2 separate regions of the Homo sapiens genome follow, and region 1 is linked to region 2. Evidence: promoter capture Hi-C in human tissues and cell types (Jung and others, 2019). All regions are on one chromosome and are shown on one strand. The core of a region is centred on a gene start or on the middle of the fragment in contact, and the rest is flanking DNA. Distances in the headings are between cores, read along the strand shown. Region 1 holds the start of TNFAIP2 (TNF alpha induced protein 2). Region 2 holds the start of RCOR1 (REST corepressor 1).

The links. Contacts are between HindIII fragments. The study calls those that stand out against the background at their distance.
Region 1: the fragment with the promoter of TNFAIP2 here is called in contact with the fragment with the promoter of RCOR1 in region 2 in 1 of the 25 tissues and cell types used here (lymphoblastoid cells).

Annotation. Positions count from the first base shown.
Region 1 is chr14:103,118,568-103,125,418 of GRCh38, forward strand. It overlaps TNFAIP2 (TNF alpha induced protein 2), which reads left to right and starts at 4,894. Exons shown (of 12, transcript NM_006291.4): 1 at 4,894-5,384. LINC00677 (long intergenic non-protein coding RNA 677) reads right to left here and starts at 4,342. Exons shown (of 2, transcript NR_138038.1): 1 at 4,042-4,342; 2 at 2,282-2,464. RefSeq lists enhancers at 3,825-4,357, 4,358-4,891 and silencers at 4,556-4,835, 5,136-5,185. The HindIII fragment of the contact is 20,075 bases long and covers 1-6,851 here.
Region 2 is chr14:102,587,923-102,593,898 of GRCh38, forward strand. It overlaps RCOR1 (REST corepressor 1), which reads left to right and starts at 4,727. Exons shown (of 12, transcript NM_015156.4): 1 at 4,727-5,265; 2 at 5,344-5,403. The coding sequence starts at 4,965. RefSeq lists enhancers at 2,999-3,048, 3,330-4,145 and silencers at 3,724-5,033, 5,094-5,703. The HindIII fragment of the contact is 11,930 bases long and covers 1-5,976 here.

The DNA.
Region 1 (6,851 bases), core at 3,644-6,143, 530 kb after region 2:
TCCAGCAAGGACAGTGGGTCAGGCTCATGGAATAGCTGCAGAAGCCATACCTCATCAGGCCTCGGTTTCTCCATCTGCCAAATACGAAAAGGAATCCTTGGCCTGGCTTCCTCCTAGGAGGAAAGGGGCAGGGGGGCTATCAACAAATCGACAGTGTCCCGTGGGGCTGGGGTGGGGCACCGCCTGATGGTACATGTCTGGGCTGCTGAGGGTCCTCATGCTCCCTCCTTTGCAGGAGGGGATGTGCCGTGAAAGTGGCTCCTGGTCAGCTGTCCTGGCCATCCCACAGTCCCGGAGGAGGTCAGCAGACTTCAGCCAGGGTCTCATGGAGCTGTAGGTGATGCTGAGCAAGTCACTGCTCCTCTTGGGGAAGGCTGGGTGGCAGCAGGGACCTCAGGCTTAAGGCCTCAACCTCTGTGCCTGCTTCTCTGAGACTCAGTTTCCTCATCTGTCAACAGGGAACACAATGGCCCCACCCCATGCAGACAGTAGGGCATCCCCAGGAAGAGTCTCAGGGCTGGTGACAGCCTGAGAAGTGAAAGGGAGAAGCAGGGTGAGTGTTGGGGTCCTGGGAACCAGGGTTAGGGCAGTGGGAAGTGCAAGTCATCATGCAGAGGGAAGTGGGCCCGGGCTGCTGGGGGAGGGGCTAGGTGACCCACCCTGAGGTCAGCACCACTCTTGTGACCAAGGCTAGCAGCTGCAGCCACGCCTCTGGCCAGGCCCAGCCACCTATAGGCCCTCTGCCCCTCGTGATCACCCACCACCCTGGGCCCTGCTCCAGGTTGCTCTCCCTTCTGCCTTCGACTGCCCTCTTCTTCCTTTTTTTTTTTTTTTTTTTTTTTTGAGATGGAGTTTCACTCTTGTTGCCCAGGCTGGAGTGCAATGGCGTGATCTCAGCTTACCGCAACCTCTGCCTCCCAGGTTCAAGTGATTCTCCTGCCTCAGGCTCCCGAGTAGCTGAGATTACAGGCATGCACCACCACACCTGGCTAATTTTGTATTTTTAGTATTTTGTATTTTGTATTTTTAGTAGAGACGGGATTTCTCCATGTTGGTCAGGCTGGCCTCGAACTCCCGACCTCAGGTGATCCGCCCGCCTTGGCCTCCCAAAATGCTGGGATTACAGGGGTGAGCCACCATGCCCAGCCCCAACTGCCCCTCTTCTAGAGAGCTTTCCTCTAGGTGCCTTCAAGAATGCAGAGAGAGGGCCAGTAATGTGCCTCCCTGTGTTATTCTCTGGTCCGTGCTGAATCGGCCTTTTCTGCTGCCCTACAGGGCGCAGGTGGAGGTTTAATTAATGGACTAAATGAGGTAATGAAAAAGATTGGGAAAAATTTTTTTCAAGGTGAAAAAGGAGTGAAGGATAGTACCTCCCATTTCTGCATCTAAACTCCTTGGTCTAGAAGTCCTTTCTTGTGTCTGACTTAAATACATCAAGCTGAATTTCAGACGCTGAGCAACGTTGGAGGAGAAGCAAGATAACACTGTGCTTAGTGAAGGGGCTCCTAGCTTCACCACTGGCTGGCACATGACTGGACCGCTCTGTGCCTCAGTTTCCTCATCTGTGAAAAGAAGAGAGTTAGTGCCCACTTCATTAGGCTGTCCGATGAAATCGGCTAATGTATACAAAACACTTAGAACAACGCCTGGCACCGGTGGAGATCAACAAACATCAGCAGTCTACCCAAAAGAATTGAAAGCAGGAACGTGAACAGATATTTGCATACCCGTGTTCTTTTGTTTGTTTGTTTTTGTTGTGAGACAGGGTCTTACTCTGTTGCCCAGGCTGGAGTGCAGTGGTGCAATCATGGCTCACTGCAGCCTTAACCTGCCAGGCTCAGGTGGTTCTCCCACCTCAGCCTCCCAAGTAGCTGGGGCTACAGGTGCACCCCATCACACCTGGCTAATTGTTTGTATTTTTGGTGGAGACAGGGTCTCACTATGTTGCCCAGGTTGATCTTGAGTTCCAGAGCTCAAGCGATCCACCCGCCTGGGCCTCCCAAAGTGCTGGGATTACAGGCATGAGCCACCACACCTGGTATACACACCCATGTTTTATAGCAGCACTGTACACAGCAGCCAAGAGGTAGCAGCAATCCCAGTGTGCACAGAGAGATGAATGAATGCACAGTGTAGCCCATCCATACAATGGAATATGATTCAGCCTCAAAAAGGAAGGGAATTCTGATACCTGCTACCACATGAATGAATCTTGAAGGCATTATGCTGAGTGAAATAAACCTGACAACGCCCTCCTGGCAGATGCAGACACAAAAGGATAAACGCTGTGTGACTCTATTTATTTGCAGTACATAGAATAGTCAAGACCACAGAGACGAAAGGTAGAATGGCGGTTGCCAGGGCCCGGAGGAGAGGGAAAGAGGAGTTAGTGCATAGTGGGTAGAGTTTCCGTTTTGCCAGGTGACGATTTCTGCAGGTGGAGGGTGCTGTTGGTTGCACGACCCTGTGAATATACTTAATGCCACTGAACTGTGCACTTAAAAGATTATAAATTGCATTATGTATATTGTACCATAATAATTTTTAAACAGTCAGCTGTCATTGCTCTGGCAGACAGAAGGGAGGGAACATCCCATGTGTCGTAGCCTCTGAGGCCCTGGGTTGCGTGCGAGGAGCTGACCGTGGCTCCTGGCCAGGTGCTGGCACACTCGCCTTCTAGGCTAAATGGAGAGGTCATTGCCAGTCTGCTCCTGTCTGCTGCCCTCCCCACCAGGCAGAGCCCCCTGCTCACTGCCCCTGGCCTGTGCCCTGGGGAGCTGGGGAATGGGACAGCCGCTGGCCACTGGTCACAAACATCGCCACCCAGCATGTGATGCTGGCTTCCTGCTGGGGAGGAGCCGTAGGCTGGCCTTTGGCTCCTCTGGAAGTGCCTGGCCTCTTGGGAACTGCTTTCTGCATCTGCGAGAAGAGGGTAAGGACTGCTCCTGCCCTATGGGCCCCATTGGCTGTCATCCCTTGGGCCTCCATGCTGCCCCATTTTCAGAAGACTTTCCTTGTCTTGAGGACTTCACGTATGTTACCATTGACCCTCATGCCTGAGCTTAGAGAGGGGAAGTGACTGGTGCAGACACAAGTCCAAGGCAGCAGCCTCGTTTCCCAATCCCCAGCCGGTGCTCTGGGCGGGCCACTGCCGTCAGTGGGGGACAAGGGTGGCAGCCCCGCCTCAGCCCTGCAAAGCCCGTGGAGACCAGGGGCTGCCTTCGAGGGGACAGTGGGGCCTAAGGCCTGACAACGCCCTCCTGGCAGATGCAGACTTCCCGAGCAATTTCCCGATCTGCTTGGGAATGGGAGGGGGGGTGAGGGGGTGGGGTGGGGGAACAGAGTCTGGCAGGAGAGGCTTGTGGGGATTGCACAATGAGGCCACAGCAGCCAGCCGTGAAGGCAGCCACCGGCCAGGGCCCCTCAGCCCGTATCCTCATCGCCCCTGTGTGGATGAACTCCATCTGCGCGGTGCCGGTGGAAGGACCCTCCCAGCCCCGGGACACCGCGGCTCTGTGGACTCATCTGAAAAATGTCATCCCTGGAGTCCTAGGAGAGAAGGGGTGGGGTTGGCAGCCTTAACGCCCCATCCTGCATCCTGGCGGCCTCCCGCATCCGCTCCCCCACAGGTTCCCCAGAGACAGGATGATGGATGGCAATCCGAGTGCAAACCTGGCGCTTGGCCAGCACTCTGGAAGAGGAAGTTCTCAGTTCCCAGGGCACCTGAACCCACAGCCGCCCCCACTCCGCTGGCCCCCCTGGTCCTGGAAGACCTGTTACTAGGCTGCAGAAGGGGTGGCGGAGTGATCAGGGGGCGGGGAAAGAGGCCAAACAAAAGAGGGGAGGAGCAGAGGCCCCAGTGAGGCAGGAGGGAAGCCCCTGCCCAGCGGGAAATTCCTAAATGTCTGGGTCCTTTCCAGAGGGCAGGAATTCCTAGCCTAGAGTGTGAAATAAGGAAGGAAGTGAATCTCCAGTGGGTTCCCTTCACAGCCCCTTTCCATCCTCCCCACATGCCCCACCCCCACATCTCCCAAAACAAACCCTGAGAGACGGTGTGGATGGGGAGACAGGCCTGGAAACGGAGGCCTGCGCTGAATGGGCAAAGCCGGGTTGATGATCCAGACGAGGCCCTGGAGTCTGGGCCTTGGGCCCCTCCCCTTCTGCCTGCTCCGGCAGCCTGTGGGTCCAGCCCCAGCCCCAGAGGGGGAAAGGCTCCAGTGGGAGTCCCATAGGCCTGGCTAGGAACCCCACTCCGCTACTTAAAGTGGTGTGAGCCGGGTCAGCCACTTCACCTTTCCGCATTTACGCATTTCAAGCAAGGCTTGACGACCGGAGGGGCTCAAGGCCCTGTGCACAGCCGCGCGGCCAGCACTCTGGCCAGCCTTGTAGCCCCCTTCCCCTTAGGGGGCCTCCTTCAGGAAGCCCCCGTCCCCTGCCTCCTTGTGGCCACGGTGACACCGGAACACTTCAGAGGGGCGGCTGGGGAGTTGGGGTGGGACGGGCTCTCCCGCAGCTGGAGCCGGTGTGTGACGCGGGAACGCGGCCAAGCGCGCCCCATCCAGGCGGCCTATCAGGAGCCGTCGTCGGACAATGGCTCCGCGCCTGACAACCCCGTCGTCCCCGTGCCGTCCCCCGAACTCCACATACCATGCGACGCGCGGCCAGCCCCCCGCCCCTGCCCGGCTGCTGGGAGGAAGTGACAGCGCCCCGCATCCCCCGCTGGGCAGGCCGGGCGCGCCCAGCCCCTGGGACGCAGGGACACAGCCGGGCCGCGCTGGGCCTTGGCCTCCGCCCGCGGGTTTTCCGCGGTTGCGGCGGGGCGGGGAAGGAGGGGCGGGCGGGGCGGGGCTGACTCTGCGACTATTTCAGGCCTTGCGGAACCCGGGCCAGGACAGTGGCGGCCAGGCCGGGACACGGTAAGTGACCTCCGCTTCCACACGTCCATTCCCCGCCGCTCCGCGCGGCTTCTCGCCCGCCCCTACCCCGAGGCCAGGCCGGATTCCCCGAGGAAAGAGCCTGTCGCCGCGGCGGGGACAGGAGGGGGCTGGACGCTTCCAGGGAAACTGAGGCCCTGGCGCGCCCAGCGTCCGCGCGTCCGGGCGCAGAGGGGCCAAGGCTGGCTGAGGGCCCGGGCCTGCCAGAGGCAGGGAGGGCGGGGCTGGGGCAGGCGCAGGGGTCTCCCCTCCATTACAGCAGAAAGGCCCCAGGTCCGGCGTGACTCCCCGGCCGGGCGACACAGGCCGAGTCACTTCCTCGCCCGTGCCCGGGTGTCCTCATCGGGGGATGGGTGCGCCTTCCACATCCTGCCCAGGACTGAAGGAGCCGGGCCCAGCGAGCTCCCGGGAGGTGTGTGGACATCAGCCCTGACGGGGAAGGCGAGCCAGGTCAGTGGACCTGAGGAGAGGCCGGGCAGCAGGAGGCTGGGGGGCGCTGTTGAGCCACTGGCTGTGACCCCTCTACGAGCCTCCCAGCAGGCCCCTTCCTGCCTCAGTGGGCCCAACCAGCGGCAAGGCTCAAAGGAACGCCCCTCCTCCCCTTCTTCCTTTCTGGCTGCACCGGCTCGCTGCTGCCTGCAGGACAGACTCAGGACACAGGAGACTCACCCCCACTGAGGCCCAGCTAGGCGCCCAGCACTTGGCTGTGCGGTTTGGCCACATCCCCTCAGCAGCACTGTGGGGTGGGGGTCCTCATCCCCTTTTCAAAGACGGGGAAACGGCGGCTTGTGAAGGAAGGAGGTGTGCAGTCCACACACTAGTGAGAAGTGTGCTGAGCCCACACCGAAAGCGTTTCTCTTTCCATGGCACCAGCTGCCTCGGAGAGCGGAGACCTGGGGCGAGGCCCAGGGGGCTGCAGCAGGACCTTCAGGCGCTCTGGGTTTCGTGTCACAGAGGGGAGAAGGCGGTGATGCTGTGGGGGTCCTGCGGGAGCTGTGCCTGGAGGTGGGACAGAGCCTAGTACATGTGGGGTGGGACAGGGAAGGCTGAGGTGAGGCTGGCAGGGAGCATTGCTGGTAAGGGCCACCCTCCCCCACCCCAGGAGAATGGCAGAGGTGGGGCCTGGGCACCCAGGGTGGGGCTGAGTGGCCCTGCCAGACAGACCAGCTCCCGCGGGTGCTAGGCATGCACCTGAGAGGGGCTGGGAAGCGAAGTTGGGGCACCGGGTGGGGAGCAGAGGTGCCCCATGGCCTTGCCCCTGGGGCTCCCTGGAGCATGCCCCTCTTGGTCCTGGAGTGGAATGCTCAACCCAAATGGCACTAGGGAGGCCAGTGCCATCCAGGAGTGTGGGACTCTGCCCAGGGCACTGGGTGAGCATGGCAGGGGCTGGGGGTGGGAGGAGCCCAGGCTTCCTGTCCCTCAGGTGGCTCTGGCCAAGCCCCTCCAGGATGGGGACAGGGTAGTGGGGCTGGTGGAGGCAGCGGGGCCATGGGAAGAGTCGGATGGGCCCAGTCTGAGCCTCCATGGCTGCTGTGCTTGGGGCAAACACCTCCTACTCAGCCTCAGTTTCTCCTTCTGGATGGTGGATCATCCTGCCTGCCTTGCAGGGCTGTTTCAGGGGTCACTTGAAGTTACCATGATACATGAGACAAGGCTGCATGCATTTAGTCTTGGGGTGGGGCAGACAGGTGGCATCAAGGTTACAGGTCACCCCAGTTCTTGGGGAGGCCCAGCCCCTGCCTGCTTCCCCCTTTCAGATCAGCCATGCTCTTCTCCAGTGGACCTGGCCTTGCTCTGACAATGGTCAGGTGCTGGGCAGGGACTCTGGGGAAGCTCGGGTCTTGCCTCTCTGGATGTAGCTTGCAGGATAGCTGGGGATGTGGAGGCAGGGGAAAGCTGGGCTCTGGGACCGGGTGG
Region 2 (5,976 bases), core at 3,477-5,976:
TAATCAAGAAGACTTTGCCTACCTCATGGTCACAGAGATTTAGGTTTTCATCTGACAGTTTTATAGTTTTACAATTAGGTCTTACAATTAGGTCTACGATTTACTTGCTTAGTTATTAACATATTAAGTAACAAGTTCTAGCAGTGGGTCTAATAACTTCTGTGATTTTGGAGACGAGTATACGTGCTATTTTGAGGCTGGGCGCGGTGGCTCATGCCTGTAATCCCAGCACTTTGGGAGGCCAAGGTGGGCGGATCACGACGTCAGGAGTTCGACACCAGTCTGGCCAACATGGTGAAACCCCATCTCTACTAAAAACACAAAAATTAGCTGGGCGTGGTGGTGGGTGCCTGTGATCCCAGCTACTCAGAGCCTGAGGGAGGAAAATAGTTGGAACCCGGGAGGTTGCACTGAGCTGAGATCATGCCACTGCACTCCAGCCTGGGCGACAGAACAAGACTCTGTCTCAAAAAATAAAATAAAAATAAAATAAATAAATAAATGCTATTTTGAGATATTTCCAGTGACTGCAATGTGTTGAGATGGAATATCACCTACATTCATAAGTGAAGAAAATGCTGGATTTTGGTTAAAGGTTGATTTTTTTTTTGAGACAGGGGTCTTGCTGGAGGCCTCAAAGTACCTGGGATTATAAGTGAGTGCCACCGCACTTGGTGTTAAAGGTTAATTTAAATAAAGATGTATTTACCAGCTCTGGTTCATGGTCTCCAGAATTCTATCCATGGATTCCAGGTTCAGAACTCTTAGGATGGCTAAAATTCCAGCCTGAAGTCTCAGTTTTCCAATAGTCCTTTGGGGGCTTGAAACCTCCCAGGAATGGCTTTAGGGTGTTTTCCTGACACTTCCCAGCCCTGGCCCATACCCTGCCCTCTGCCTGGCTCCATTCTTGGGAAAGGAATTCCTTGCCAAACAGAATTTTCTAACAAGCCCAAATATAGTAATAATAATAATTAGCAGCAGGAAGAACTATAAACACTGGGGTAGGAAAGCCTGTACCCGTCTCTCCTTTTCCTGATCCCTTCCCTTCATTCCTGAACTGAAGGAGACGGAGCCCCTTTGGGCTTTGATGACTCCATCACTGGGGTATGTTCATTTGATGGTTGATTTTGCTGTACCAGGTACTTCCTTTCCCATTTTCTAATCATTTTATAACACATGCTGACTCTTTTCCCTTCCCTTTTTCTGGGAAAATACAATGAATACAAAATTATAAACACTGTATGTTTAGCATCAGACCAAGCATGTTGCAGACACCCTTGCCCCTGGCCGTCCCAGAATCCCTGGGGCAACTCTGGCCTTGGTTAAGAGGCTCCATAGCTCCTGGCTTAGCTGTGCCCCGGCTCCTCCCCTCATATCATGCCTGATCCTAGGAAGATATTTCACTTCTGGGTGCCTCAGCTTTCTCATCTATAAGGGTGGGGTATGAGATGGTCATGGTCATAGTTTTTGTTTTTTTTTAGGGTGGGGGGACGAGATGGTCATAGGGTCACAGTTTTTTTTTTTGTTTTTGTTTTATACAGACGGGATCTCGCTATGTCACCGGGCGCCATGGCTCAAGCCTGTAATCCCAGCACTTTGGAAGTCCGAGGCGGGCGGATCACGAGGCCAGGAGTTCAAGACCAGCCTGGCCAATATGGTGAAACCCCGTCTCTACTAAAAATACAAAAATTAGCCGGGTGTAGTGGCGGGTGCCTGTAATCTTAGCTACTCGGGAGGCTGAGGCAGAGGTTGCAGTGAGCCCAGATCGTGCCACTGGACTCCAGCCTGGGCGACAGAGTGAGACTCTGGATAAAAAAAAAATTAATGAAAGGAAAAAGGCAAGGAGGAATCCCAACGATGACAGGTTGAAAGCTGCAGAGGAGACTGATGGGGAGTGACCTGTGAGGTAGCAGGACCAGGTGAACTGGAATCCCCAGGTCCAGATAAGTGAGGGTTTCCAGGAGGAGGAGTGGTCGACTCAGCTGCTGCTGAGAAGCTCAGCGAGACCAAGAAGTGACCCCCGGATTGGGCAGCGGAGAGGTTGTAGGTTACCTTAGCAGCAGTTAAGGGGTGGGGACACAGCCCTGCTGGATGGGGTGATGAGAGGCTGGGACGGGAAGGGGTGGAGGAGGTGAGTGTAGGGAAGTCTACAGAAATGTCTGAAGGGAGGGAGAAATGGCCAGAGGCAGGAGAGGGTTTGGGGGCAGGAGTCGGTCCAGAGTGAGGCTGATGGCACAGAAAAGCCTCGAGGGGAGGGCAGCGGGATGGGGTCCTAGGCCTGAGGAGGACGTGAGTACCCGACAGGGAAGTTTGTCTGTTTGGGTACTGGGAGAGGAGAAAGATCCTGAAGGCTTTCGTTTTTCTCTGAAGAATGAGGTAAGGCCACGGGCTAGGAGCCCAGGCAGAAGGGGCTGTGGGAGGTGTAAGGAGAGGGGAGCAGGCATGAGGTCTCACTTTCAGAGTGGGAGTCTCACCGAAAAACATGATAGGGCTGCCGGCTTTGTGGATGCGTTAGAAGTGTGGGATCACAAATTCCCAATCCCAGGGCTGTGTGTGGAGCCCTCTCCCCAAGCGATGGGAAGGCGAGTGTCCTTAACGTTGGGGTTCCCTATGCTGGAAGGATGGACTCTATTACAGTCCATCAGGCCAGGAGGTAGGTACTGTTTCCTGTATTTTACGGTTGGTAAATCTGAGAGCTTCAGGCCAATACAGTATCGGTGTAGCATTAGGGTCAGACAAAATAGAACAGGGCCCGGCACATATTAAGTGTTAATATTCGTTGGAAAAAAAAAAAAAAGAATGCTTGTCAAGTCCACTGCTGCGCCCCTACTGGTAGCCCAGCCTGGCCTCAGCCTTGGGGGCTGGTGGGTGGAGAGGGCGGCCTTGTGTGCTCTGCTATCCCTATTGCCTTAATGACCCAGTATCACCTTTGTGCCCTTGTAGGTTGATCCTTCTAGTCTCGTGGCAGAACTTTGTAGACACCAAGCGAGCGGGGCAGCGTGTTCTGGACCTCATTCCTCACACAGGGCTCACCTCCGGATGAGTCAGAGGCCTTAGCCGGTGGCCCAGCCCCGGGAATGCCACCCCGGTTCTGTACCCTGCCCAGGCCAGCTGACAGGGTGTATTGGGGCACACACCTGCAGCATCCAGGGCACTCCAAGGAGAGGGACGTACTTTTGAGGAGAGTCTAAAAGTCTAAGTCCCCCACCTGAACTTGGTGGGGGAAGGGCTTCTATACCAGGAGGGCTCCCAGCCCTGTTTCTTAAAGGCCATTTAGGCAGAAGTGAACGTGGTCTCTTCAATAAAGTTAATAATGGTTCATGCTGCAGAAAATGTTCAAGACAAAACCCTGCTTATTTACTCAGGCTTTAAAACCATAAAACTCCCAAATTCTCCCTGTAGCTATTTATATCCAGAGCTAGTCCCCAAATTAAGCTCAGGTTTGAAGTAACTTAAAAGAAAAATAGCCTTCCCTGCTTTAAAAAGATTTTCCGTATAGACCTCCACTGGTCTAATTACGAAGGGCGCGTAGTTTCAGGGTTGGCTGGGGGTAGGGCACCGGGACCTCCAAGGCAGTTACACTCCTCAGCCTCCTAACAGCTGTACGGCTGCCCGGTGGTCCCTCTCCAAGGCAGCGGCTCTCAGGCTAGCCTCAGCCTACCCCACCCGCCCGCACCCCGTGTTCTCCCTCGTGGGGGTGCCGGGGGGAGTAGGGAGGCGGGGCGGGCGGCAGGTCCGGAAAAGTGGCTGCCCTCGCCCCGAAAGAAGTTGACCCTCCTCCCGTGCCGAGAGCTTGGGATGAAAATAGCTTCTTCCTCTTTACCCTTCCTGGACCCCCGCCCCAGGACGACTGGGCCCCTTCATTCATCTTTCAGCGGCCACCCAGGCGGCTTGGGCGTCCCCACGCCGGGACTCTGTGCCCCGGGGACCCACGGGGACCCTCCCTTGGGCCTCTGAAGCCGCGGCGCACCCCGCACCCAAGCCACCCCGGGGGCCCCGGCCTCCCCCACCCAATTAGCGGGCAGCACCGCAGACCCGAGTCCCCACGCAGCTCGCGCCAGGGGAGGCGGCCGCCTGGGAAGCCCGTCCCCCGCGCCGCGGCCCCCGCCCCCGCCAGCCCCGCGTCCCCTGGGAAAGGCGGGGGCGCAGCGAGTTTCCCCCAATTAGTTTCCTCTTTGTATGGAGTCTTAGCGCGCCCGTACTCCTCCGCGCAGCGGAAAGTAGTCCCGGCCGGGCGCTCCGCGGCTTCCCAGCGCCAGACACATTTTACTTTGAGAAGTCGACGGGACTCTCAGCGGGGTCCTTCAGATGGGGGGCCAGAGGCTGCGGGAGGCGTGCGCGGGCAGCAAGGGCAGGGGCCGCGGCCAAGGGTAGGGGGCGGGGAGGGCCGCGAACTCCTCGCCGCTGCCTGGAGAGATGGATCATGGGGCGTAGGGAGATGGCAAACCTCAAACCACGTACGGCGGGCGATACGCGTCAACCGAACCTCGCCAACGGAAGCCCGGAGCCGCCCCTCCCCGCTCCCCCGCCCCGCCGCCCCGGACGGACGGGCGCGCGGAGCCAACCCCGCTGCCGCTGGCTGTCCAAATCCCACCAGAGCCAATGGGAGCGCGAGGGGGGGCGGAGCCATCTCGCGTCAGTTGGGCTGCGCGCCCCCCTCCCCCGGCGCCCCTGCAGGCCCCGCCCCTGCCTCCTCCCCTCTCCGCTCGCTGCTCCCGGAGTAGTTGGTGCCAGTGAAGTGAGGGCGGCGATGAGAGCGAAAGTTGCGCTCGGCTCGTCGCTGGGGGCTTGAAGCGGCTCCGCGCTCTGCCCGTTTGGGCCTCCCCCGACTCGGACTCGCGCCCGTGGGCTCCCGCCGCGCCCGCCCGGCCCCGCGCCGGCCCCGCGCCCCCTCCCCCGTCTCGGCGCCCCCTCCTCAGGAGCCGCGGGTCCCCGCCACTTTCGCACGGCCCCGGCCCCCGCCGATGCCGGCCATGGTGGAGAAGGGCCCCGAGGTCTCAGGGAAGCGGAGAGGGAGGAACAACGCGGCCGCCTCCGCCTCCGCCGCCGCCGCCTCCGCCGCCGCCTCGGCCGCCTGCGCCTCGCCAGCCGCCACTGCCGCCTCGGGCGCCGCCGCCTCCTCAGCCTCGGCCGCCGCCGCCTCAGCCGCCGCCGCCCCCAATAATGGCCAGAATAAAAGTTTGGCGGCGGCGGCGCCCAATGGCAACAGCAGCAGCAACTCCTGGGAGGAAGGCAGCTCGGGCTCGTCCAGCGACGAGGAGCACGGTAGGTGGCAGCCGCCCCCGCGGCCCCGGGCCCCGCGCCCCGCGCCGCGCTGACCGCCGTATTCTGCTTCCCCCGCAGGTGGCGGTGGCATGAGGGTCGGACCCCAGTACCAGGCGGTGGTGCCCGACTTCGACCCCGGTGAGTAGCGGCCCCGGCCGGCCGGCGGCGGGGATGAGCGGGAGCCCCGGGTCCCCGGCGAGCCCGAGGGGGCGGGAGCCCGCCGACAACTTTCTTTTTGTGCGTTCGCCCTGCCGTCCGTGGGGAGAACAGCAGGGCGAGGACGAGGAGGCGCACACGCACACGAGTGTTCTGCAAACGTGCCTCTGCACCCGGGGGAGGCCAGGTCGCCCCCAGCAGGGCCGGCGCCGCTGCCCCCTTGCGCCTCCGAGGACTGCGGGTGGCGTCGGAGGTGGCCACACCTGGCCTGGGGGCGCTGGGGGTCCCTGCGTCCAGGTGAGCTGCGCCTCGGCCAGGGGTAAGGGTGGCAGTGCCGGAGAGTTAGTGTCCTGCGAGCGCCCCGGACTTAGGAGGTCCCCAGAGACCCCTTTCTCGGAACCCTTCCCAAAGGCTGCTCCCCACGCCTTTGCTCCTCCTCTCAGCCTCTGGGCTCTTGCTGGCTCCTGACTGCCCTCCCATCCAGAAGGCGAGTAGAAGAACGACCCCCCAAAACCAGTCAATAAAAGAAGTGTGTTTTCCAGAGGGCGCCTGCCT